Linked DNA regions of Homo sapiens: region 2 is linked to region 1. The links are contacts of gene promoters, found by promoter capture Hi-C in blood cells and fetal thymus (Javierre and others, 2016). All regions are on one chromosome and are shown on one strand. Each heading gives the region's core, a stretch centred on a gene start or on the middle of the fragment in contact. The rest is flanking DNA. Distances are from core to core; before and after follow the strand shown. Region 1 holds the start of APLP2 (amyloid beta precursor like protein 2). Region 2 overlaps STT3A (STT3 oligosaccharyltransferase complex catalytic subunit A).

Region 1 (4,474 bases), core at 62-2,561:
AGAAGCGATATTTCAGCCGACTGAGCCGAGGAACAGTGAAAACGCTTCCAACAGGCAGATGTTGGGGAGAGGACATTGCAGGCGCAGAAGAGTGTTAGGAAGGGCTGTGAAATGGAAAGGTGTCGTCTTGGAGGAATCGGGCAGAGCCAGTTTACCCACAGGGAACTGGGCATGTAGGGGAGAGTGGTGCAGAATAAGGCTGGAAAATCCCGAGTTCTTACAGGCGCACTCGTCTACTCCGCGGACAGTCTCTTCCTTTCTATTGTCAGCGTCCTGGGGGTAGGGTTGTGTTATGCATTTAGTTGAACCTGAAGGGACTAGTCCAGGTCTCTCAGAAGGCAGTACCTAACTCACAGGCGACTGAAAGGAAACAAGGCCAGCGGAGCCCTGGCGGTGGCGAGGCTGTGCCAATTGCTAAATGGGGCAGCAGGACGTTTTTCTCTACTGAAGTGGCAATGCCGCGGAGCAGGAAGGCAGAGTAGCAGGTCTCCCGCTAGTGCGTCTCAACCGAAGAAGCGGCGTGATCTCTTCCTAAAACACACGAGGAAGGGGGCCTGGGCTGTGAGGCCGGCGTGGTTCTTGCACCCCTGGTCTCTATCCCTGCCTGGGCAACTGCTGGGAAGGAAGGGTCGGCAAGAGGCCTAAAGACCGGAGGCCAAGGGTGCGGAGCGCGGCCGGACTCAGAGGCGAGGACCCGGCGGAGAGGCCTGGGCGGAGCAGGGCGGGAGAGGCGCGCCCTGAGTAGGGCTCGGGGGAGGACGATGGCTGCCTCCTGCGGTCCTCCCCCTGCCTCGGGGGACGGCCCTTGGCAGACCGTCCCGGACTCCTAATTCATCCTGTTTTTAATAAAACCATTTCCAGAATCAAAAAGAGGGCGGTACCCAAAGGAGTCTGAAGAATGCCCAGCAGGGGCAGGGGAGCGGGGCGTGCCCGTATCGGGAGGCTGAAGGCTGACGGACCAGCGCAGCAGGGACAGATAACCGCGCCGGGGGGCGGAGGCCAGAGCCAGCCCCGCGCCCACAGGGTTGCGGCCCCAGACCCGCCGCGCGCACGCCCCCGCGCCTGGCGGCCACAGGGTCCGGAGCGGGGGCGGGGCCATCCGCGGCCGGGGGCGGGGCCGGGCGGGGGGCGCGCGGTTGGACCGGGCGGGAGGAGCAGGCTCTTCCATCTCCTGATTGGGTCTGGACCGCAAGGGGGCGGGGTCTTGAGGGGTTCTGCGGGCCGGCATTGGGAGCCGCAGAAGGAGGGCGTGGTAATATGAAGTCAGTTCCGGTTGGTGTAAAACCCCCGGGGCGGCGGCGAACTGGCTTTAGATGCTTCTGGGTCGCGGTGTGCTAAGCGAGGAGTCCGAGTGTGTGAGCTTGAGAGCCGCGCGCTAGAGCGACCCGGCGAGGGATGGCGGCCACCGGGACCGCGGCCGCCGCAGCCACGGGCAGGCTCCTGCTTCTGCTGCTGGTGGGGCTCACGGCGCCTGCCTTGGCGCTGGCCGGCTACATCGAGGTGGGGACCGGGCGAACGCCGGAGAGTCGTCTCCTTCGCCCGCCGGAGGAGCGCGGACTGCGGGCGGGCAGCGGGGTCCGCGGCAGGGCGGGCCGGCGGTGCGGCGCCGGGGGTCCGGCTCTGCGGCGGGTCTGGCGCGCCCTCCCCCGCCCGTCCCTGCTTGGCGCAGTGCTTAGCGCTGGAGGTCGGGCTGCCTCAGCCGCCGCAGAGGCCAAATGAAAGGCGTCGGGGCTGCTGGGGGCGGCCGTCCGCCTCGGCCGACCCAGCCCCCAACCCGCCCGCGGCGCCGCCACCTCCTCCGGGGACCCAGTGCCCCCGGGCGCCCGCCCCGCCCTCCCCCGGGACAATGCCAGGGCGCTCCTCTCCCGCCGGAGTCCGCGGCTGGGCTTTCTCCAGGGGCGGCCCCGCGCGGACCCCGTACGCTCCCTCGCGCGGCACCGGGGCCTCGGCTCCGGGCCTCCCACCTGCGAGCGGCGGGCTTCGCCTTTGTTGCCAGGTGGACGCGGCCCCGGCCTTCGCGCGCGGCAGGGATGCTGCGAGCCCCGGGGGAGCTCCCGCGCCAGGCCGCCCGCTGCTCCCTCTGCCGCCTGGGGCCGGGTCGCGGACGCGCATTTTTTAAGTGGCGCTGTTTGCCTGCGTCCGTAGACCGAGGAAACCCGCTCTGGGTGCGTTGACCGCTTTCGTGAGGGTTTCAGTGAGTAGGGAAGGTGCCCGCGAAGGCGTGTAAACTGTTGGAAAAATCGTCCTCTTCGGGTGTCAGAATTCCATCAGTGGTTGTGCTTCGAGGTCGCACCCTGAGCATCCCCGCTGCGAGAAAGGCGAAGCGGCAGGGCCGGGGGTTGGGGAGGCCGCGGGAGGGGGCGGGGGCGGCGGGGTCCGCGGTGCGGGCCGGAGCGGGCAGCCTTGGAGGAGCCCTGCTGTGGCCGAGGGAGACGGCGAGCTTGATCTTTACTTCCCTTCTCGAAGTGGTGCTTGAACTGCTGGTCTGGAATGTGTAGTTCTGGTGTCGTTTATTTCTTCTCCCTCTTCGCTCTTTTAAAAATTACAACTGGTTTCTGCATACTTAGCTAATTTCAGAGAGACCTGAAGACTGGATTTGATTGGGCATTAATTGAGAGCTTTCTTTTAAAGACCTCAGGTTTAGAATATATTTACTTCTACAGAATGTTCAAGTATTTCCACGGGTAAAAATAAATCTAATAAAAAGCCTCTCTGATGGAACGGCTTAACACCTTTGTATTCATCCAGTTTAAAGCTTTGTGACTGTGAGGGTAAGAAAGGAGTTCAGCTTTAAAGAGAAATAGTTAACGTTTATCTACAGAGGATTTTGGATTGCGATTGTTTCAGTGTGTCCACACAATGGTCAGAGTTGTATCTGTGATCCCTGATATGTCGCATGAAAACAGCTAGGTGAGTGAGATGGGAAGAAAAAATAAAGGCTTTCGTATGGAAGATGGGACTTCACTAGTGGGTCGGGTGTCAGAAACCATCGTTCACACTCGCACTCCACTTCCCACTGCTATGACTAATTTGAGGCATTAGTGAATTCACAGTAGAAGACTCAGCAGTTTTAAAGAATTCGTTAATACTTGTGTAGCGGGAAAAAATAATATGAGAATTCATTGTTGTGTGTTAAATTTGATTGTTAGCCACAGCGTTGTTCAGTTGAAAAGTATGGTTGAAGAAAGTAGGAATTAAACATTTCTGAAAAATGGTTTTATGGTAACTCCTGTTCTTTGGAGCTGTATTTTTGCTCACACTTACTAAATGATCTTTCAAGGGGCCTTTTGTCAAGCTATCAGAATTTTATTCATATGAATATAATTTGATTTTGTTTATTTGCTGTCAGGCAAGGGACTGTCGAAGCTTAATTTAGATGAGAGTGGCCTAAATCAGGATGTCTTTGGGAAGGCCCTGATTGAGATTAGCGAAAGGGATTCTGGCCAAATCCCTGATCAAGTTGCTTGGCACAGAATTATTGATTGGCAAATCTTTAGTGTTGCTTGGTGTTGACTGAATTAATCTCTTACACCTGTTTAAAAAGAAAAAGCTCACCTCTGGACTCAGGGTCACTTCCTCTCTTAAATCCGAGACAAGTTCTCCTGTGTGCATGCTCCCATTTGGGACTGAGACAGTATTGTGCTGAAACCCCGCATACTGTGCAGTGGATGACTAGGCTCCTGAGAACCGGAACTTGAGTTTGTTCTGTCACATTTGAAAGAAAGAAGGCCATTTGATTGCCAGTTTTCTGGAAACTCAAACCCAAATTAAAGGATGTCAACTGAGGCAGAGTAGAGAAGGCTTTGTGTTGGTGTTTCTGACAGGTGGTATGGGAGATGTGTAATTGTACCTTGGAGAGAAACCTTGGTGTGCTTCTGATAGGAATATCGTCTTTTTTTTTTTTTTTTTTTTGATACGGAGTCTCGCTCTGTCCCAGGCTGGAGTGCAATGGTGGGATCTCTGGGCTCACTGCAACTTCCGCCTTCCGAGTTCAAGCGATTCTCCTGCCTCAGACTCCCAAGTAGCTGGGATTGCAGGCGCCTGCCACCACGCCCAGCTAATTTTTGTATTTTTAGTAGAGACAGGGTTTCACCATGTTGGCCAGGCTGGTCTGGAACACCTGATCTCAGGTGATCCACCTGCCTCGGCCTCCCAAAGTGCTGGGATTACAGGCGTGAGCCACAGCGCCCGGCCCGTTATTTTTATCATAACTATGTTTTAAAAATCTTTTGATAAATACGATAAACTTCAGTTTTATCAATTAGTTCCTCCTTTTGTAGAGGGAATTTGTTTTACCATCTAAAGCCAGGCTTTCCCAGGGTGTAGCCACAAGCCACATGTGGTTATTGAGTCTGTAGGGTGACTAGTGTGAATGAGGAGTGAATTTTTCATTTTATTTAATTTTAATTAATTTAAGTTTACATTTAAAATCTGATTCAGTGGTTGGAAAACTTTTAACTGAAATAATTTGGTT
Region 2 (4,646 bases), core at 215-2,714, 4.5 Mb before region 1:
GCAGGAGATGCCACAGCTTGCAGGGCACAGTTGAGGAGAGCAGGTTGGTAAGTGTTTTAAGAAAGGTGTCTTTGCTCTTATTTGCTTGGCGGTGTGCGAAAGTGACCAAAGAGCACGAGATGAAATCTCCCTTACGGCCCTGCCCTCAATGACTAGCTCGTTTACTCAAGTTTTCAAGTAGAGATCCTAGCAGTCTCATTTTGGTGTGTGGCTCGTATCAACGCAGTGGTGTTAAGTTTGTTCCTATTTCAGGCATTCCAGAAAACAGCTGCAAACCCTGAGAGATATGGCTGGATTGTTGACCTCCTGGAGTAGTTAGGCCTTTATTTTTAGTTGCAAAGTAAGCTTTCCCTTTGGGACTATACTTAAACACATTTCTAAACTGCTCTTCTGGGACAGTTAATTATGGAGAACATGCTTGACTTCTCAGTGTTGGGGCTAGCATTCTATATGCCTTCCACCTAGTCCAGTGTTGTTGTTGTTTTGTTTTTCTCCTTTATTCCAATAATAGTGGGAAAAAAGATTCATGGAGGAGGATAGACAAACGTTTGTTAAGGGATACACAAGTACAACTAGATAGGAATAAATTCTAGTGTTCTATAGGATAACTATTATTAGGAGTATAATTAACAACAAAAATACACAATTTGTTGTATATTTTCAGATAGCTAGAAGAGTGGATTTTGAATATTCCTAAGACAAAAAAAATAAGGTGATGAATCTACTAATTATTTCCCGACTTGATCATTACACATTATATACATGTACCAAAATGTCACACTGTACTCCATAAATATGTACAATTATGTGTCAGTCAAAAAGAATAAAAGCAAAACATCTTGAATGGTGTTGCATATCCTTTGTTATAGTCGTTATAACTTAGCTCTTGATCACCTTGTAATTTAAAAAAGTAGGTCTGGGCGTGGTAGCTCACGCCTGTAATCCCAGCACTTTGGGAGGCTGAGGTGGGCAGATCATGAGGTCAAGAGATCCAGACCACCCTGGCCAACATGGTGAAACCCCGTCTCTACTAAAAATACAAAAATTAGCTGGGCGTGGTGGCGCACACCTGTAGTCCCAGCTTCTCATGAGGCTGAGGCAGAAGAATCGCTTGAACCCAGGAGGTGGATGGAGGTTGCAGTGAGCCGAGATGGCACCACTGCACTCTAGCCTGGCGACAGAGCAAGACTCCGTCTCAAAAAAAAAAAAAAAAAAAAGATAGTAGTACTGTCTTATACAAGAATAACTAACCTATGGTAGATTAGTGCTATATTGCTATATAAATAATTCATATCTGTCATGTGATTTCCATTTTGAACTGCCTACAGATAGTGTCCCTCAACATTTTAATCTACTTTTTTTAATCCCCCGACTCTTCTGCTTCAGTAGGAAAAATTCGTTTTCTTTCCCTCTAGATTATCATCTGATGCCATCAAACTGTCTGTGTAATTTAATCAGTCTCTTAAATCAGCATTGTCAGTTACAGAGAAGCCTTGAGACAGATGATTGGAAGCGGGTATAGATCTGAGCAGTCGTTACAGTCTGATATATGGGATGAGAACACAGTGGATCTGTGTTTGGGTACCTCCACCTCTTTTTGAGTGCATGATTGTACCTGCATTAGTTATCAGGTATGCTGTTAGTTGACCCGACAGCCCCATTGGGATTTGGAAAAGAAAAAAGTTTATAGCCATTCAGTTGAAGTTTAAATTTAGGGCTCGAAATTGTGTTGATTCAGTCGTGACTTCTATTTTTCCTCTTAATGCCTTTCACTTCTTCTTTTTTTTTTTTTTTCCTTTTTAAAGAGAGGAGGTCTGGCTCTATTGTCCAGGCTGGAGTGCAGTGGTGTGATCCTAGCTCACTGCAGCCTCCAACTCCTGCCTCAGCCTCCTGAGTAGCTGGGACTGCAGGTGCAGACCACCAAGCCTGCATAATTTTAAACAGTTTTTTGTGGAGATGGGGTTTTGCTGTATTGCTCAGATTGGTCTTGAACTCCTGGCTTCAAGCGATCCTCCCTCCTTAGCCTCTGAAATTGCTGGGGCTTGCACTTCTGGTCTCAATGTTTATTTCCTGCTTCCCCCCCTCCGCCCCTGCCACCCCATATAGTCCTGCCTTTTCTTGAGTGCTCTCTTTCTCCATTTTATTATTTTTCAGTATTTCCAATCTTTCCTGTTTATTTTTTCATCTCTTCCTTGTGCTATACTATTGCTAATTGTGCTTATGTACTTGTTAGCTGTGAAGGAGTGGGAAATAGAATTATGGATGGTTTATTCTGACCACTCCATTTTAGTCTTGACACATAGACCTGACTTGTGCCTACTTCCTTGCAAGTTGATCATACTTTAGGCCAGGCTTGGATACTAGTATTAGCCTTGACCCTGTCTGGTGTTTTTGCTAGCTCCTACGTCCTTTATGATTCCCTCTCATCATAAAATATGAAAATTAAGTAAATTGAAGGTGTTCAATATCTTGTGGTCTTGACTTTTTCATTTTAGCTGATCGTCGTGTGTTGCCACCCATTCATGTCAAGATGACTAAGTTTGGATTTTTGCGATTGTCCTATGAGAAGCAGGACACACTTTTGAAGCTTCTCATTCTGTCAATGGCTGCTGTATTATGTGAGTGTGCATGTGAACCTCTCTTTCTTTGGGGATAGAAAGAAGAAAGTCTAGAAAAAAATTGAAAATCGCTATCTTAAAATGCCTTGTTCTTTTTAGCAGATTGTTACATTTTTCCATTCCTCATTAGTATAATTTTATGAAGGCAAAATAAAAGGAATATAAAAGTCAGGGCTATGGGCCACATGCAGTGGTTCACGCCTGTAATCCCAGCACTTTGGGAGGCTGGGGTGGGTGGATCACTTGAGGCTGGGAGTTTGAGACCAGCCTGGCCAACATGATGAAACCCTGTCTCTACTAAAAATACAAAAACTAGTTGAGTGTGGTGGTGGATGCCTGTATTCCCAGCTACTTGGGAGGCTGAGGCACGAGAATCGCTCGAACCTGGGAGGCAGAGGTTGCAGTAAGCCGAGATTGCACCACTGCACTCTAGCCTGGGCAACAGAGCAAGACTCTGTCTCAAAAAAAAGAGGGCTGTGATCATCTTTGAAAGAATGGGAAGCATGCTGTGCCAATTCTGTTTTCTCATAGGGTTGAAAGTGATATTGGGGACCCTTGGATAACTGATTTTTGTAAAAGACAATTATCTTCAATTTAGATGTCTCCTATAGTATTTTTGAAAGTCTCTTGAGAGTTTACTCTGTATTTTAGATTTTCTGGCTCTTCATGAGTCCTAGGTGTAATTTTGCTTGCCATACCTATTACTTTGCTCCAAGGTTAAGGTTAGTTATGTGTGTATGGTGGGGGAGTCAGCGTATATAAAAGATGACCATGTAAGTTGAGTTTGGTATTAGTAGGTGAATGTAATGTTATAGGCTTTTATAATTAGTTAACTGTGACCTATGAAAGTGGAAAATGTAGATGCCATTGTCAGGGGAAAGTAAACTTCTCTTGTTTCCTTTATGTGGGGAAAGATGGATAAAGACTTTATTCAGGGATTATTTTATATTTTCTGTGACCTCTCTACTGGATAATACTGTCTTCATTATAATACTATATCTGCTGTTCTTTCATGGCACATTACCAATAAAATATTAACTCTCTGGTTTTTGCAGCCTTCTCCACTCGTCTGTTTGCTGTCCTGAGATTTGAAAGTGTTATCCATGAGTTTGATCCGTGAGTACCTTTGCTTGATCTGGTATTATTTCCTTTGGGAGGCATTCAGGTTCATGGGTTTCAGATTCAAATTTCAGTCAGCTCTCAGTGATAGAGATGTGCTTTCAGTACATTTAAGGGAAAAAAAAACCCTTAAATTCTTCCAAAGGAGATAATTATCTCCTTTTAAGACGTATGTGTTGGAGTCCAGCACAGTGGCTCACACCTGTAATCCCAGCACTTTGGGAGGCTGAGGTGGAGGGATCACTTGAGCTCAGGAGTTCAAGACCAGCCTGGGCAACATGGTGAAACCCCATCTCTACAAAAAAAAAAAAAAAAGTATGTGTTGGAATTGACCAAGTAAGTCTCTGAAACTCAAAAAATGTGAGAGGCATTGCTAGTATGTCTGCCTATCACTTAAGATCTGGCTAGGCTAAGAGAATTCTGGCTGCCCAGTTTGGTAAAAGTTTGTGATGCAGATTGAAGGAAAGGGTCCTGGTGTGTATTCCAGGCTCAGAAGAGAATCACAAACAATGGACTTGAGATTCATGACATTTTGCTGTTTGTTTGTTTGTTTAGCAATTTATGTGATAGAAATTGGGCTTCTTAGTTAAATTCTAGGGCAATGAAAAAACTCAAAGTTATCAGTTTGATAAGGAATTTTGTTCATTAGATGAAAAAGATATAGTGGAATTCCTTAGTGGTATTAATAACTAGTATTTACTAAGCATTCATTTTGTTCCAAGCACTAATTTACAGATTATCTCTAAATCCTTTCAGCAACCCTTTGAGATGTAGGTACTATTATTCCCTTCTTAGAAATGAGGAGACTCCACTGGGCACGGTGGCTCACGCCTGTAATCCCAGCACTGGGGGAGGCCAAGGCGGGCAGATCACAAGGTCAGGAGTTCGAGACCAGCCTGGCCAACATAG

What was found. The method cuts DNA at HindIII sites, captures the fragments that hold promoters and counts their contacts. A CHiCAGO score of 5 or more calls a contact.
Region 2: a fragment that was not itself captured here is called in contact with the fragment with the promoter of APLP2 in region 1 in 1 of 17 cell types (total B cells); the score reaches 6.7 in total B cells.

Annotation. Positions count from the first base shown.
Region 1 is chr11:130,068,583-130,073,056 of GRCh38, forward strand. APLP2 (amyloid beta precursor like protein 2) reads left to right here and starts at 1,312. Exons shown (of 17, transcript NM_001142276.2): 1 at 1,312-1,500. The coding sequence starts at 1,396. LOC107984432 (a long non-coding RNA gene) reads right to left here and starts at 1,067. Exons shown (of 2, transcript XR_001748444.2): 1 at 882-1,067; 2 at 1-531. RefSeq lists enhancers at 3-503, 504-1,004 and silencers at 921-1,150, 1,541-1,670, 1,741-2,200. The HindIII fragment of the contact is 4,769 bases long and covers 1-2,753 here.
Region 2 is chr11:125,593,386-125,598,031 of GRCh38, forward strand. STT3A (STT3 oligosaccharyltransferase complex catalytic subunit A) reads left to right here. Exons shown (of 18, transcript NM_152713.5): 2 at 2,496-2,618; 3 at 3,674-3,734. The coding sequence starts at 2,531. Among named protein-coding and RNA genes, the nearest start is that of STT3A, 2.9 kb to the left of the region's middle. The HindIII fragment of the contact is 2,242 bases long and covers 344-2,585 here.